2 separate regions of the Homo sapiens genome follow, and region 1 is linked to region 2. The links are contacts of gene promoters, found by promoter capture Hi-C in human tissues and cell types (Jung and others, 2019). All regions are on one chromosome and are shown on one strand. Each heading gives the region's core, a stretch centred on a gene start or on the middle of the fragment in contact. The rest is flanking DNA. Distances are from core to core; before and after follow the strand shown.

Region 1 (7,078 bases), core at 4,213-6,712, 1.0 Mb after region 2:
CCCCCCTTTGTGTGAGAGGAAAGAAGATGGGCGTTTATAAATTTACTTCTAGGCAAGCTCCATTTGAACATACCTAATTAACCATCTCCAGTGAACATGAATAGCAGATAAAAATCTGACCAGTAATCAGGAAAGAAGTTAGTGCTACAGCTATGTACCTGGGAGACAACTGCAAAGACCTAAAAGTTGAAGCTATGGGACAGATTATTGTAATCACTGAGGTAAAGGGTTACAGGAAGAAAAACGATCTTTCCCATCAGTAACTAAGTGTATTCCTTCTGGAACTTGAATCTCTTATCCAGAGAGAGGTTTCGGAATGGGTCTTTTCAATTGAGCCTTACACCATAATTTCATACAATTTCAAATTCACAAAAATGCTTTACTGTACAATACAGCTGACCCAGGAATGAAAATGAACTGTTTTTGGCCTAGGGTTTCTGTAACTATGTAAAAAAGTCTATGGGAGGCCGGGCACGGTGGCTCACGCCTGTAATCCCAGCACTTTGGGAGGCCGAGGCGGGTGGATCACGAGGTCAGGAGATTGAGACCATCCTGGCTAACACGGTGAAACCCCGTCTCTACTAAAAATACAAAAAATTAGCCGGGCGCGGTGGCAGGCGCCTGTAGTCCCAGCTACTCGGGAGGCTGAGGCAGGAGAATGGCGTGAACCCAGGAGGCGGAGCTTGCAGTGAGCCGAGATACCGCCTGGGTGAAAGAGCGAGACTCCGTCTCAAAAAAAAAAAAAAAAAGTCTATGGGACACACTATAGCAAGTTAAGAGCTTTAAAGAACTTCATTGTGTTCTTCAGCTAAATTTATTTCCCATTCACCCAGTGGCCAAAGGAGAAAAGGTTATTAAACTTCATAGTAGTATCCTCAAAAAGCAATTGTGTATGATTTTAAAAAACAAAACTATTATTCTAGATTGATTTCTAAAATGCTTCCTATCAGTAACATAACACCTTTAAATGTGTTAATAATAAGCTTTATTCTAAAATCATCAAGACAAAAATTTAGAACCTAACACTATTTGCTTGGTATTACTTTTTAAAAAAGGGCTAGGAATCATGGCTCATGCCCGTAATCCCAGCACTTTAGGATGCCCAAGTGGGAGGATCGTTTGAGCCAGGAGTGTGAGACCACCCTGGACAACATCGTGAGACCTTGTCTCTACAAAAAATTTTTTTAAATTTGCTGGGTGTCCTGGCACACCTGCCTGTACTCCCAGCTACTTGGGGAGACTGAGGTGAGAGGACTGCTTGAGCCCAGGAAGTTGAGGCTGCAGTGAGCCATGATCACCACTGCACTCCAGCCTGGGTGGACAGAGTGAGACCCTGTCTAAGGAAGAATCAACGTTTCTCCTTTTTCAAAATAAGCTGTCAACAAATTAAAAATGAAGAGACAAAACCAGAAGAGGTTCTTATCAATTTTGTTTAAGAAAGCATAATGTCTGCTGGGCATGGTGGCTCACGCCTGTAATCCCAGCACTTTGGGAGGCCGAGGGGGGTGGATCACCTGAGGTCAGGAGTTCAAGACCAGCCTGGGCAACATAGCGAAACCCCGTCTCTACTAAAAATACAAAAATTAGCTGGGCATGGTGGCATGTGCCAGTTATCCCAGCTACTCGGGAGGCTGAGGCAGAAGAATCGCTTCAGCCCCGGAGGCAGAGGTTGCAGTGAGCCAAGATTGCACCACTGCACTCCAGCCTGCGTGACAGAGTGGGACTCTGTATCAAAAAAAAAAAAAAAAAAAAAAAAAAGAAGAGAGCGCATAATGTCACAAGAACATCAACGTTGGACTAAGACAAACTTTAAATACTACCTTCATCTTGACCGTCCTTGGGTGAACTACTTAAAGCTTTTGAACCTCACTCTACTCATCTGTGAAATGGTAATAGAACTACCTCTTACAACAACAAATTAAGTAATGAATGTATCTAACTGAGCCAAGCATATATAAAGTATGGTACTAGACACATCTTAACAGCTTCTCTTCCTTAAATTTGCAATCTAGAATGGAAATTTCAAAAACTTAAAAGTATTCAAAACTTAATATTTTTTTTTAGAGATGAGGTCTCGCTATGTTACCAGGCTGGTCTACAACTCCTGGGCTCAAGCGATCCTCCACACCTTGGCATCCAGAGTAGTTGGCATTACAGGTGCAAACCACCGTGCCCAGCTTAAGAGCTTATTTTTGAAAATTACCAATAAGGCAGTAGAACGAGTAATATTAAAATATCACTTTTAAGTCCTCTCTGTTTTCTGATCCCATACTGGACACATCCTCCTCCCCCAAAATGAAAATAACCTTTAGATATCTCAAGTGACAAGAACGTTAAAATTTCACTTTACTGGTTACTTGAATTTAACCTAAAGGTTTTGTCAGTTTTTAAATTAGTAAATATAGTGATAAAATTTATATGTAAAATATCTACATAATATTCTTACAAAACATCAAAAATCAAATTAGAATTTTCATTCATTTAACCATAAAACATTTTGCTACTAGGCGGCACAGGCTTTAAGACACACAACCTCCTCATTCCTCTTTATGAAGCTTAGTGCCCTGAGAGTGCCAGATAATAAGGCATCTTGTTATCTCATTTTTAAAAAACTTTTTTATTTTAGGCCTTTACAACACATGGCAGGTCTATATTAACTCCCACACCGAGTAGTCTCTCTTCAGCTAGATTTCTAGCCACTTGAGCTACTAATCATCACTTAAGAATGGTAGAATAAAAACACGACAATCTCTTTTTAAGCTTTTTAGCACGCCTCAATTTTAAATATGTTTGTGCACTCCTGTACACTTTCAGTCACCTAAATAAAATAGGATTATTTATCAAGATTATACATTGAATACTGTACAGCAACTTTTGTGGATACGGGGATCTGCCTACTGGGTCTGTGGGCTATGGAGACGTTGCTCGCCCCCATTTTGTTGTTGTATTATCACTTTCACCGAAGAACACAAGAGAAAAAAAGATTTCCGAAAATAAAGATGAGGCTGACTTCTGACCATTCACATTGGGAATGGGACAGAACCTTCTATTTCGGTGCAAGAACACAGCATATAAAAACATCTAGAGCAGAGGGTCCTAAATGAAAATATCCTCAGACTTACATGAAGATTTCTTAAACACCACAACATACCTAAATGTACCTGTATTTTCCTGCACTGGCTTTGAAATTTAAAAATGAAGCACTCTTTAACGAAGAGTGGACATTTCCAACCCTGCAACTAACTCATTCCTATGTTCTGTCAGTTACTTCTAAGGGTCCTTTCCGAGAAACAGTCAAAATTAGCAGGGTTCTCCCCTACCCCACCACCCTCGGGAATGGGACGTTCCCAAAAGCCAAACGAAAGGGGCGAATTAAGAGAGCAGCAGTTCAATGAATTATTCCATTACTCGTTTTAAATATCTGAGAACTTAAGTCGTTCATCTGGTTCCATTGCTGTCACAGCATCTAATATACAGTAAAAGGAGTTGCACATTTTCCCCTCTTCGGAAGAAGTCCTAGCAGGAAAGTGAGGTGCCACCAAATCGACCCCCGGGGGGGGGCTGCTGCCAACGTGGGCAGAAAACAACTATGGGGAGGGGGTCGTCTTTTTGTGAGCAACTCCGCTGCCTCCTGGGGAACATGGGAGCTGCAAGCTTACTGCTAGAGCCACGAAAGGAAAGAGAGAAGGAGGGAGAGATGCCTCCATGGGGAAAGGGAAAAAAAAGGATAAACCGTAGAGGATCAGAAAAGGAAGCATTTTGCTTTGAGGAGGGGGAAGTAGAAGGGAGAAGTGAAGGTCTGCTTCCTAAGCGATTTTTCCCTTCCCCTCACCCGCCGCTACACTCACAGGCCAGGCCGCCGCGCTGGGCACTGCCCTTGGGCCGCTCCCACGCACGGACGCAAACCCCTTTGCGTCCCTGGTCCCCGGTCCCCGGCCCCGGCGGAGGCCCCGCGGCCCGACAGCAGGAGAGGGTCCTGGGCAGCCGCCGCCCTCCCCCGCGCCCGCGCCCCCGCCCGCCGTCGCCCGGCTCCCGCTTCCTATTTTCGGAGTACACACCCTACAAGGAGCGGAGCGAGCAGGCCTGGCAGAGACCTGCCCCCGCGCGGGGCCTCGGGTGACGGACAGGGGCAGGCACTGGGCGCAGTAAGGATGGGGGAGGAAGGGCAGCCGAGGGCAAGGCCAGCTGCGGGCCAATGCCCTTCCCCCGCGACCAGACTCCGGGCCCACCCGCCCGGGCTGAGCCGGCTCCTGACAGCCCGCGCCGTCGCCCCCGCGACTCTTACCTTCTCTTCATCAGACAACTGCTCCTCCAGATCCGCCATCTTCCTTCTGGCGACAAACCGCGGCGGCGGCGGCGGCAGCGGCCACCTGACTTCCCCGTTTCCGTGCGGTCCTCAGCGCCGCGCGCCCCCGCTAAGGGAGGGGCCCGCCGCTCAGGCCGCCGCGCACGCGCACCCCGGGAGCCCCGCCTCCCTCGACCCGGCCCTCGCGGACTGAGCGCGGCTGTGCGCGTGCGCGGGCGCCTGGTGGCCGGGCGGGGGACCGTGTCTCGCTGGGCCGCCTGCTGCAGGCTTGCTAGCATCTTGAGTGCAGCGTGCTCTCCCCACTGTGACCATATGGGCTCAGTCTGCGATGAGTACATTCTGAGCCCTTCGTTATGTTTCCATCAAGTCCTGAACTCTGCCAGCTAAAATGTGAAAAGGTGTACAAATAGAAGCCTTTTAAACATTGTTTTTTCAAATATTAGAGAAGATAGTTGGCTTTCATTAAAATACACATCACGACCCTCTCCATAATTGAAAGATTGCTCTTGATATACTCCTTTATTCATCCAACAAATATTTTTTGGTTCTTTAACGGGGTGCGGGGCACTGTGTTAGTCTCTGGGGATACAGTGTTGAGGGGGAAAAAAGCAAGCTAGACATACATGTTCATAGCAGCACAATTCGCAATTGCAAAGAGATGGAACCAACCTAAGTGTCCATCAACCAATGAGTGGATAGAGCAAATGTGGGTATATACACCATGGAATACTACTCAGCCATAAAAAGGAACGAAATAATGCCTTTTGCAGCAACTTGGAAGGAGCTGGAGGCCATTATTCTAAGTGAAGTAACTCAGGAATGGGAAACCAAATATTTTATGTTCTCACTTATAAGTGGGAGCTAAGCTATGTGGGTTCAAAGGCATAAGAATGATAAAATGGACTTTGGGGACTGGGGAGGGGATAAATTACTACGTATTGGGTACAGGGTACACTGCTCAGGTGATGGGTGCACTAAAATCTCAGAAGTTACCGCTAAAGGACTTATCCATGTTACCAAAAATCCACCTGTATTCCAAAACTGTTGAAATAAAAAGAGAAACTTCCATACTCAAGAAGCTCATTTTCTACTCATTAAACAAACATATATTGAACAGTTGGGGCCGGGCGCGGTAGCTCAGGCCTGTAATCCCAGCAATTTGGGAGGCCTCCGTGGGCAGATCATCTGAGGTCAGGAGTTCGTGACCAGATTGGCCAACATGAAGAAACCCCGTCTCTACTAAAAATACAAAAATTATCCGGGGCGTGGTGGCGCATACCTGTAATACCAGCTACTCGGGAGGCTGAGGCAGGAGAGTTGCAGAAGTCATTGCAACCCGAGAGGCGGAGGTTGTCCCTGTCCCTGCAACCCGGGAGACGGAGGTTGCAGTCAGCCGAGGTCGCGCCACTGTACTCCAGCCTGGGTGACAGAGCAAGACTCTGTCTCAAAAAGCAAAACAAAAAAAAACAAAAACAGTTGGGGAAGGCACTGTACTATTCCAGGGGAATACAAAGCTATGTTAGACATGGATCCTACCCTCCTGAATAGGTTTGCCATATTAAATATAGGACACTTAATCAAATGTGAATTGCAGATAAGCAATCTTTTAAAAAGTATGTCCCATGAAGCAGTGGAGACATACTTAAACCAAAAAATTACTCATTGTTTTCAAATTTTACTGGACATCCTTTACTTTTATTTGCTAAATCTAGCAACCCTGCTTTTGAAGCTTGAAGTTTATGAGAGATTAAACATGTAATCAAAGCTGCGTAGATATGAATCAATTGGGAATCTTGTGAAAACGAAGTTGTTAATTCAATAGATGTGGCATGAGACTGGAGAATCTGTATTCTCCAGAATACAGCCTGTAGAATAACAGGCTCCCAGCTGATGCCAGTGCTCCTGATCTGGAGACCACATTTTGAGTGGTAAGGCCTTAGGGTTTAAGATAGGCGTTCAGATTCCGTGAGGAACTGTTGAGAACTTTTGAACAGTGACATGACATGATCAGAAATATGTGCAGCAAGATGAATCTGACAGCTGCACATAAATGAAATGTGAGAGTATCAAATAAATGTTCAGAGGCAAGACCTTATTATTAAGTAATTTATTGGGTGTTCATAATGTGCAAATCATTGTTTTTTGTGAATGGACGGCAAACAGAAGCTATGATATTGAAAAACTGATGGTTCATTTGGGGAGAGAAGAGGAAGGAGAAGCATGCTGACACATGCAGAAAAAAGCAGGTGTCCTTTCGAGGATAAACGTTGTGAAGAAGATAAAGAGAATAAACCACATAGTTTAACCAAGGGTAACACTGGATGAAAATTAACATGTTTACTCTTATAGATTACAAATCATTGCTTCATTGATTTCTCACTGCAACCTCAAGTGAGGTTCTTATCAGTACCATTATACCCATTTTACAGAAGAAAAAAATGAGGCTAAATGATTTAAGATTGCATAGATCCCAGCACTTTGGGAGGCAGAGGTGGGCAGATCACCTGAGGTCAGGAGTTTGAGACCAGCCTGGCCAACATGAGGAAACCCTGTCTCTACTAAAAATACAAAAATTAGCTGGGCGTGGTGGCTCACACCTGTAATCCCAGCTACTTGGGAGGCTGAGGCAAGAGAATCACTTGAACCCAGGAGGCGGAGGTTGCCTGGGCAACAAGAGCAAAACTCCATCTAAAAAAAAAAAAAAAAAGAAAGAAAGAAAGAAAGAAAGAAAGAAAGAAAGAAAGAAAGAAAGAAAAAGATTGCATAGCTCCT
Region 2 (6,978 bases), core at 1,350-3,849:
CCTTTTTTACCCTGCCTTTCAGTAATTTTCACTGTAACCCTGGGATATCTTTTATTTTTATTATTAATTATTATTATTATTTAGCTGTTTAATGAGGCTTCAAAAGATTTAATTTCTGGAGCCATCAAGTCAATACCCTTTCACATCTATTTGCTTTGACTGTAATAGAGCCTGCCTTTGTGCAAAGAAAGTCTTAGAAAGAGTTAATTTGCAATAGTAGCAGAGACTAATTCTCAAGAGAGAATTGAAACCAGCAAGTGTCCTCCTGGTGGAGAAGCAGCCCCAGGCCAGGCTACTAGTGAGGAAGTTAACTCCTAGTGTGCCACTTCTGTGCAGTAGGTGAGATCCTCAGCCAACCTTCAACAGTGCTGGTTTTAAGGTGGAAACAGAATGCTGTCAATTCTCCTTCCCAGGTACTGGATTTTGGTGGTTAGAGAATGTGGTGTCCTGTGATTTTTATCACTGTTTTATTTATTTTTTTTCCATTTCACAAAAACAAACAAAAAATGATGGGTGGGGGTTTGCGGTGGGGGGGGGGGGTGGGCAAGGACTGATTTCCTTGTAACATGATCCTGCTTTAATTGTATTTAGGTGAATACAAGCTAATTTTTTCCCAGTGATTTTTTTTTAAAAATTGGGCTGCATGTATAAAAGGGATTTGCTTCCCAGAGATGGTGTCATTTCATATTTCTAACTCTTAACCCTGAGTAAAACTTATTATTATTATTTTTTCCAGAAGTTTGCCAGTTAATTGCTTGAGAAGTATTCAACATCAGAATCAAGAAAATTGATTGCCTTGCAATGTGTGGAAGTGCATTTTGAAAAGAACAAGGAATGCCCTTGGACTTTAAATTTTTACTATCAGTTTGACATCTAACTTTTACTGTCCAGTGGTTTTCTTTAATCTTAAAGAAATCTAGTTATTCTAATATTGAGCAGTTTTAGAGAGTATACTTAATAAAGGAAAGTGGTATAATGAACAGGGATGGATATTAAAGGGATAAGTGAGGGAGTAACTATCAGAGCCAATATAAATAAATAAATAAATAAATAAATAAGTACCTGTACTCACAGGATAACCTGGAGATGATTTCTAAGCCTCTGACTTTTAGCCCCAGAGTTCTAGGTAAAGTTCTTTCTTGACCTCTCTTCTGGGAGGGAACTTTTCACAGTTTATTAATCAATCCCTTTCAGGGTCTTTGCAGAAAAGATTTTCTCTGCCCTGGTTTGTGTCATATTTGGGTCTAATTTGGAAAGTGGAGCAATTAAAGAGTCAAAACCTTTCATTAGGAGCCTGCCATTAAAAAAAGAAGAAAGAAAGAAAGAAAGAAAAAAGGAAAAAAAAAAAAAAAGCTTTGATCTGTAACCCTTGGACTGAACATTCTAGTCATTCATCTTCCAAAATTTCAAGTGCAAGATTTGGTTGTGGTTTGATTTTACGTCTTTGAGACACAGCTTGAATGTCTCAATTTGATTTTATGCATTCGACACATTTTTAGGGATCTGGTGATTTGGGAAGGGCTGTACCATATGGTCTTGGTGAGGTGATAGATTTTCACATTCTGGAAATTGGCAGCAAAGGGTAGGAACTGAATTAGATGTGGAAAGGGAAGATTAAGCGTTTGGGCCTAATTCACTCATCTCATGAAAAATCTTCTGAGACGTGTAATTCCCATAAAATCTATTTTTACAAATACGGCTTTTGTTTGATTGTTTTTGGTGTATATGTACACGTGTCCTCACACGTAGGGAGTAATTTTTTTAAATTCTCTCAAAAGTAGAGGACATGACATTTAGCTTTTAAAGCTATGACATTTAACACTTCTCAGTTAGTCCTTCAGGAGAGATCTCAGACTTAGGGGGGTCACAGAATATAAAACAGCCCGCTACACATTCCCTGAAAAGGAGATTGTATAGAAAGTTAGGAGCTGAGGGGCTGGTGCCACGTTCTAAAAGAAAACAGGACAGACAAATCGTTTTCATCTGAGAATTGTTTTTGGAGAAACACTAGAGTCAACGATAGAATAAATCAGAGCCAGGTGTGTATATATATAGGGAGGATAAAAACACCCTGGCGGCAATGAAATTTAAGAAAGAGCAATTTAAGAAGAAAGGGGTGCCCTGTGTGATTCCTCGCGGTGGGATAGAGGGAGCTGAAGTGTAGGATTTTCCCTGATCTTTCAGAGAATTCAGATTCAGGAGGCCTGACATTTAATCTGGTCTGTGCACGGATTTCTCCGGCTTGGTTGGGGTTCTGCGGAATGCAACGCTCCTCGGGCGCTTTCTGCCTTCACCTCTTCCGTGGTCTTTGATCCCCAGTCCCCGCGCAGGGCCGCAGCGGAGCCAGGTCGTGCGCCCATTTCTCGCACCTCCACGAGCCCGCGGCTGGCGCCACCGGGCGCGGGACGCGGGGCGCGGGGCGGGACCGAGGCGGGGCGCTCCGGCGCGCAGCGGGTTAAGCGGCGAGGGCGGTGGCGAGGGGCGGAGGGAGTGCCGCGGCTCCCGGCTCCCGGCTCCAGGCGCCCGCGTCCCGGACAGCAGCGGGTTAAGTGCCGCCCGCGCGGAGACGGCTGAGTCCGGAGCCGCGGCTCCGAGCTCGCATTCGGATCCGCTAGAGCAGGAAGATGGCGACGGACGGCGCGAGCTGCGAGCCCGACTTGTCCCGGGCCCCGGAGGACGCGGCGGGGGCCGCGGCGGAGGCGGCGGTAACCGAGTTCCCGGGGCGGGCGCGGGGCTAGTGTAGACGCGGGCCGGGGGCGGCGCCGGGGTCCCAGCCGGACCCGACTTCGCACCCCCGGGGCGTTCCGTAAGCCCGGGACTCTCCGGTGCCCCTTCATCGGGGCCCCCCTTCCTCGGGATGCCCACACGGCGGAGGCCGCGGGGGGGAGCGGAGCGGCCACCCTGGCTGGGGATCCCTCCTGTCCCTTCCGCGCCCCACGGGAAGCGGCCCCGGGTCGCCCGGTTCTCCCAGCTCCCTGTCTGCGTCCAGTGCGACCCCTATGCCCACTCCCTCCGCTGCGGTCGCTTCTGGCCGGGGGAGAAGGCTGGGACGTGTTTCCTGGCGAATTTGACCCCCCATTGTTCACCTCTCGCTGCGCGCGTGGTTGCCAGCGCGTGTCTCGGGGGTGCCTGGTACCGCTCAGCGGACCCGGGAGAGCAGCTTGGGGGAGGTGGGCCATCGCCCAGCAGGTGTGGGGATGCCCATTGTGTGCATCTGGTCCTGTGCCTTCGGGAGGCCCACTGGGAGAGGGCCGTGTCCAGATGTGGGCGCTGCTGCCGCTGAGGCCAGCGCTTTAGGTCCTAGCAGCCTGCTGCCCCATTACTTGGTGGTAGTGATTGGGGTGGGGTGGATGGATTGGTTCTTCCCGAGACGATGCTCAGGAGAGGTGGAGGTTCTGCACCTGGTTTCAAGACATTGTTCTCCTTCTCTGGAGTCTAGAGGCCGAATGCGCTACCATTCTTGACTGGTCCTTACTTTCACCCCCTTAATATTCCGGTGTAGAGACTCGCTGGTGGTTTCCAGCCTCTACTTTGGGGAAGGGCTGGACCCACATTTCCTGGGTGGAAAAGGTTCTCGGTGTTTGGGAAGCAGCTTCGCAGGAGCTGCAAGGAGCTGCAGAGAAAGGCAGATCTGGGAGCGCCTCCCACTCTTGGCCAGATCTGGCTGCTCCCGCCGAAGGATGGGGTGGGATGGAGCGAGCGGGGCGTGGACGCCCCCCTCTTCCTATCAAGACCTGAGCAGAATCAGTGCAGGAGAGGGCAGGGCCGGGCGTAAACAGCGGGGGCCGCTTTAACTTCCTCCCACCCTCTGGAGGTAGGGCTTTCTGGAGAGGGAGAGGAGAGATGTGGAGGAAGGTACTTGGGGTGAGAGGAGCTGAGCCTGGCAATGGAAGGAGAAACGGGGAGGAGGACTGCTAATTTCCACTTGTAAAACTGGCAAGTTTTGATTTGAACTTTTGGGAAAATTGAGTTTCCATTCTTTGCATAGAAAATGAGAACTTTAAGATTTCAAACGAAACCTGCCCACTTATGTGAATCAGCTCCCCTCTGTGGGGCACAGTAAGGAAACTAGCTATTGAGACAAGGCTCTCTGGCAAGTGGAAATGATTTGGTGCCTTCATCCCCAAAAGGTGGGAAGGGGAAGGACGAGGAAAAAGAAAGAGGGTGTGTGTGTGTGTGTGTGTGTGTGTGTGTGAAGGGGAAGGACGAAAAAGAAAGAGGGTGTGTGTGTGTGTGTGTGTGTGTGGTGTGTTTCTTGTTCCCCAGAAAGGTTGAATTTGTTTACTTAATCCACTCAGAATGGGTTTCTGTTACCCTCAATATTTTAATCACCTGACAATTAACCCAAACACAAACATCTGACTGATGGTCTGTAGAGCTGATATATAGTTTTGTTTGGTTAGATCGTAAACAAAACCCAGGACGCCAGGCAGATTTCTGTGTTAACAAGGTCAGTGTTCCCTCTCTTCTGTTTAAAATGTTCAAGTCTGATTTTCACTGCTGATAGTTGGGGATTTGATAATTTCACCCTTGTTAATGGGCAGAGCCATGGAAAATCTGCGAAAGTGAACCTTCTTTGCTATTTCCATAGAATCCTTTAGGGTTGCGAGATGCAATAAGGATTCTTCATCTAGTAGTTTAAAAACCAGTAATAATTTCTGAATTTTTAGTAAAATTTTGATGATGGCTTTTGTAGTAAATTGGGCCTTTTATTTTAGTTCTCCAAATAGTTTTGACTTAATAAGGCATGGTTCTCTCATATCAGCCGCTTGACCTATAGACTGATTTTTAAGTGAAAGGAAAGCTAGTGTAGAGGAGTGATATGTGTCATCACAATTGCTCCTTAAAAATCAGAGGCGTTTTATGCATTTTGGGTTCTTGTTGACTGATATTTTTTATTTTAGTGAACAATTCACTTTGCATTTTGGAGATTTGTTGACTTTCAAATTGGTTTACATATCGTGCATTTTTATGTATACATTTGGCAGTAAGGAGTCAATGGAAGCTCTAAAGCAGTAGGCTATTTTTGAAAGTGAGTGTTTTCACTAAGCTTTGACTATTTAGATTGTTGCTTAGAAACAAGCTTAATTTATAGTTTTCAGTTTAATATCATTTTTAGTGGAATGTTTTAAATTTAGTTTGTGATCCTCATTCTTAGCTGTTTAAATCCTGAAAGCATCCCAAGTTTAAGGCTGGGTAACAGCTACATTATTCAATAGGATCATATTAATAGTCTTTGCCGTGAACCGTGCCGGGAAACCTGGGCTATTTTCAGTGCCTTAGCCAAATGTGATGACTTTTATAGGCCATATTGCTGTTTCCACTCTGAAAATAACTCCTAATGGATAAGGCAGTATGGAAAACGAAATCTTCATGCTTTTTATTGTCACCAAAGAATTTTGGAATGAAAGGAAAATGGAGATCTTTTTAGAGCTATATTTGGGAAGCCAACCAACATTCTTGTCATTCTGAGCTTTTCTGGAGCAGCTAATAGACAAGAAGTAGGTATAAAATTTGTTGTCATGGTGGCAGTGACAAAGAAAAACTTGGACAATGATTTAAAATGCACGACAGTGATGTTAAACAAATTAACAGCTGAACTTGAAATTTTTGTTTTCCAGGTGACAGTATTGAATGTAAATGCACTGAAAAGAACTTTCGTAGCCAATTGCGCTAAGCGTTTTTTTAAACTAAATTATAGTTACGTGGCAGCTATAGAATGTTGAAAGTGTTGCAGCTTAATTTTTAAATAGGAAATAACGTAGATTTAACACACATTACTGAACACTTACTGAGATACAGGCATCATGAGTATGATCTTTGCTACCCTAAAGTAATACATTCCAGTGATAGAAACTGACATACGCCAAGGAATCAAATTGGGGATGATGGTGTCATGAGAGGCAAAAATGATTTTGCATTAGAAGTTTGGAGAGGAACAGTCATAGAGAGGGTCCCTAGTGGATGGATCTAGAAACTTCCATAGAAGGATGACATTTGAAGTAGTCCTTGAGACTGAAGGAGGATTTGGACCGGCACTGCAAGAAGGAGTGTGCAAATGTGGTCATATCCTAGGGAGCCATATGCGAAGGGTTTTCAGTGATGAGCATAGAGGTTCCCATTCTGGTCTCAGCTATATGGTTCAGAAAAATAGCTTGGAAGTTGAGGAAATTGACTGGAATATTTTTCCAAAGATGAGAATATAACTGTTTTCAGTGTCCTGCTTTTCACTCTTTTTTTTTTCTTCTTAAATAATAGGTTGTAGATTTCTGTTTGCCCCAGTTTTTGAACTTTATTATTATTGTCGTTGCTGTCATTGTTATTGTATTTCTCACAGCAGCAATTTTGTTTAGAGAACATTTGTCCTCTCAGTGATTGAATCCATGCCTGGGCTAGATTACCAGTTGGTTCTATCCTTGTGTGTTTCTCATAACTTTATGAGGTGAGAAAATGTTTCACAGCCTTGGTACTTAGACATTTACAAATATCTGCTGTTGATCATGTGGACAGGAAGGCTGTGGCTGGGAGAAAGCAGCCTCCTCCTCCGAGGAGAGTTGTGTGAAGTTTGTAAAAGAAAGCAAAGGTGGTTAGCACAATGCCAGGCACATGGTAAGTGTTCCACAAATATTTACTGAATGAAGAAAATGAAAAGAAGCTCACCAAGAAGCTGTGTCATAAAATTTAATGTTGATTGGCTAATTAGAAAACTCACTTTGTGTGTTACCAGCTATCTTATAGTGAAATTATTGGCCTGTGACTTGTAATAATTAATGTTATAGATATTATAGATCTTGATCCAAAAAGATAACCCTAATTCTTTTAAAATTTTCATCTTAATACTGCCGCTTTCCAAGCTGCTTTTCTCAATGACTTCTTAGATTCTTTGCAGGGGTTTTTTAAAAGTTTAATTTCCAACACTATTAGTTTTCTCTTTAGATTCTCGCTTTTCAAAATGATGATTGAGGCTGCACCTCTACC

What was found. The method cuts DNA at HindIII sites, captures the fragments that hold promoters and counts their contacts. A contact is called where the count stands out against the background at its distance.
Region 1: a contact is called between a fragment that was not itself captured here and the fragment with the promoter of CTTNBP2 in region 2, in 1 of the 25 tissues and cell types used here (hippocampus).

The regions. Positions count from the first base shown.
Region 1 is chr7:116,859,858-116,866,935 of GRCh38, reverse strand. CAPZA2 (capping actin protein of muscle Z-line subunit alpha 2) reads right to left here and starts at 4,349. Exons shown (of 10, transcript NM_006136.3): 1 at 4,286-4,349. The coding sequence starts at 4,324. RefSeq lists a silencer at 3,862-4,601 and enhancers at 3,968-4,730, 4,682-4,731. The HindIII fragment of the contact is 4,509 bases long and covers 3,208-7,078 here.
Region 2 is chr7:117,869,062-117,876,039 of GRCh38, reverse strand. CTTNBP2 (cortactin binding protein 2) reads left to right here and starts at 2,599. Exons shown (of 23, transcript NM_033427.3): 1 at 2,599-2,705. The coding sequence starts at 2,625. The HindIII fragment of the contact is 9,281 bases long and covers 1-6,208 here.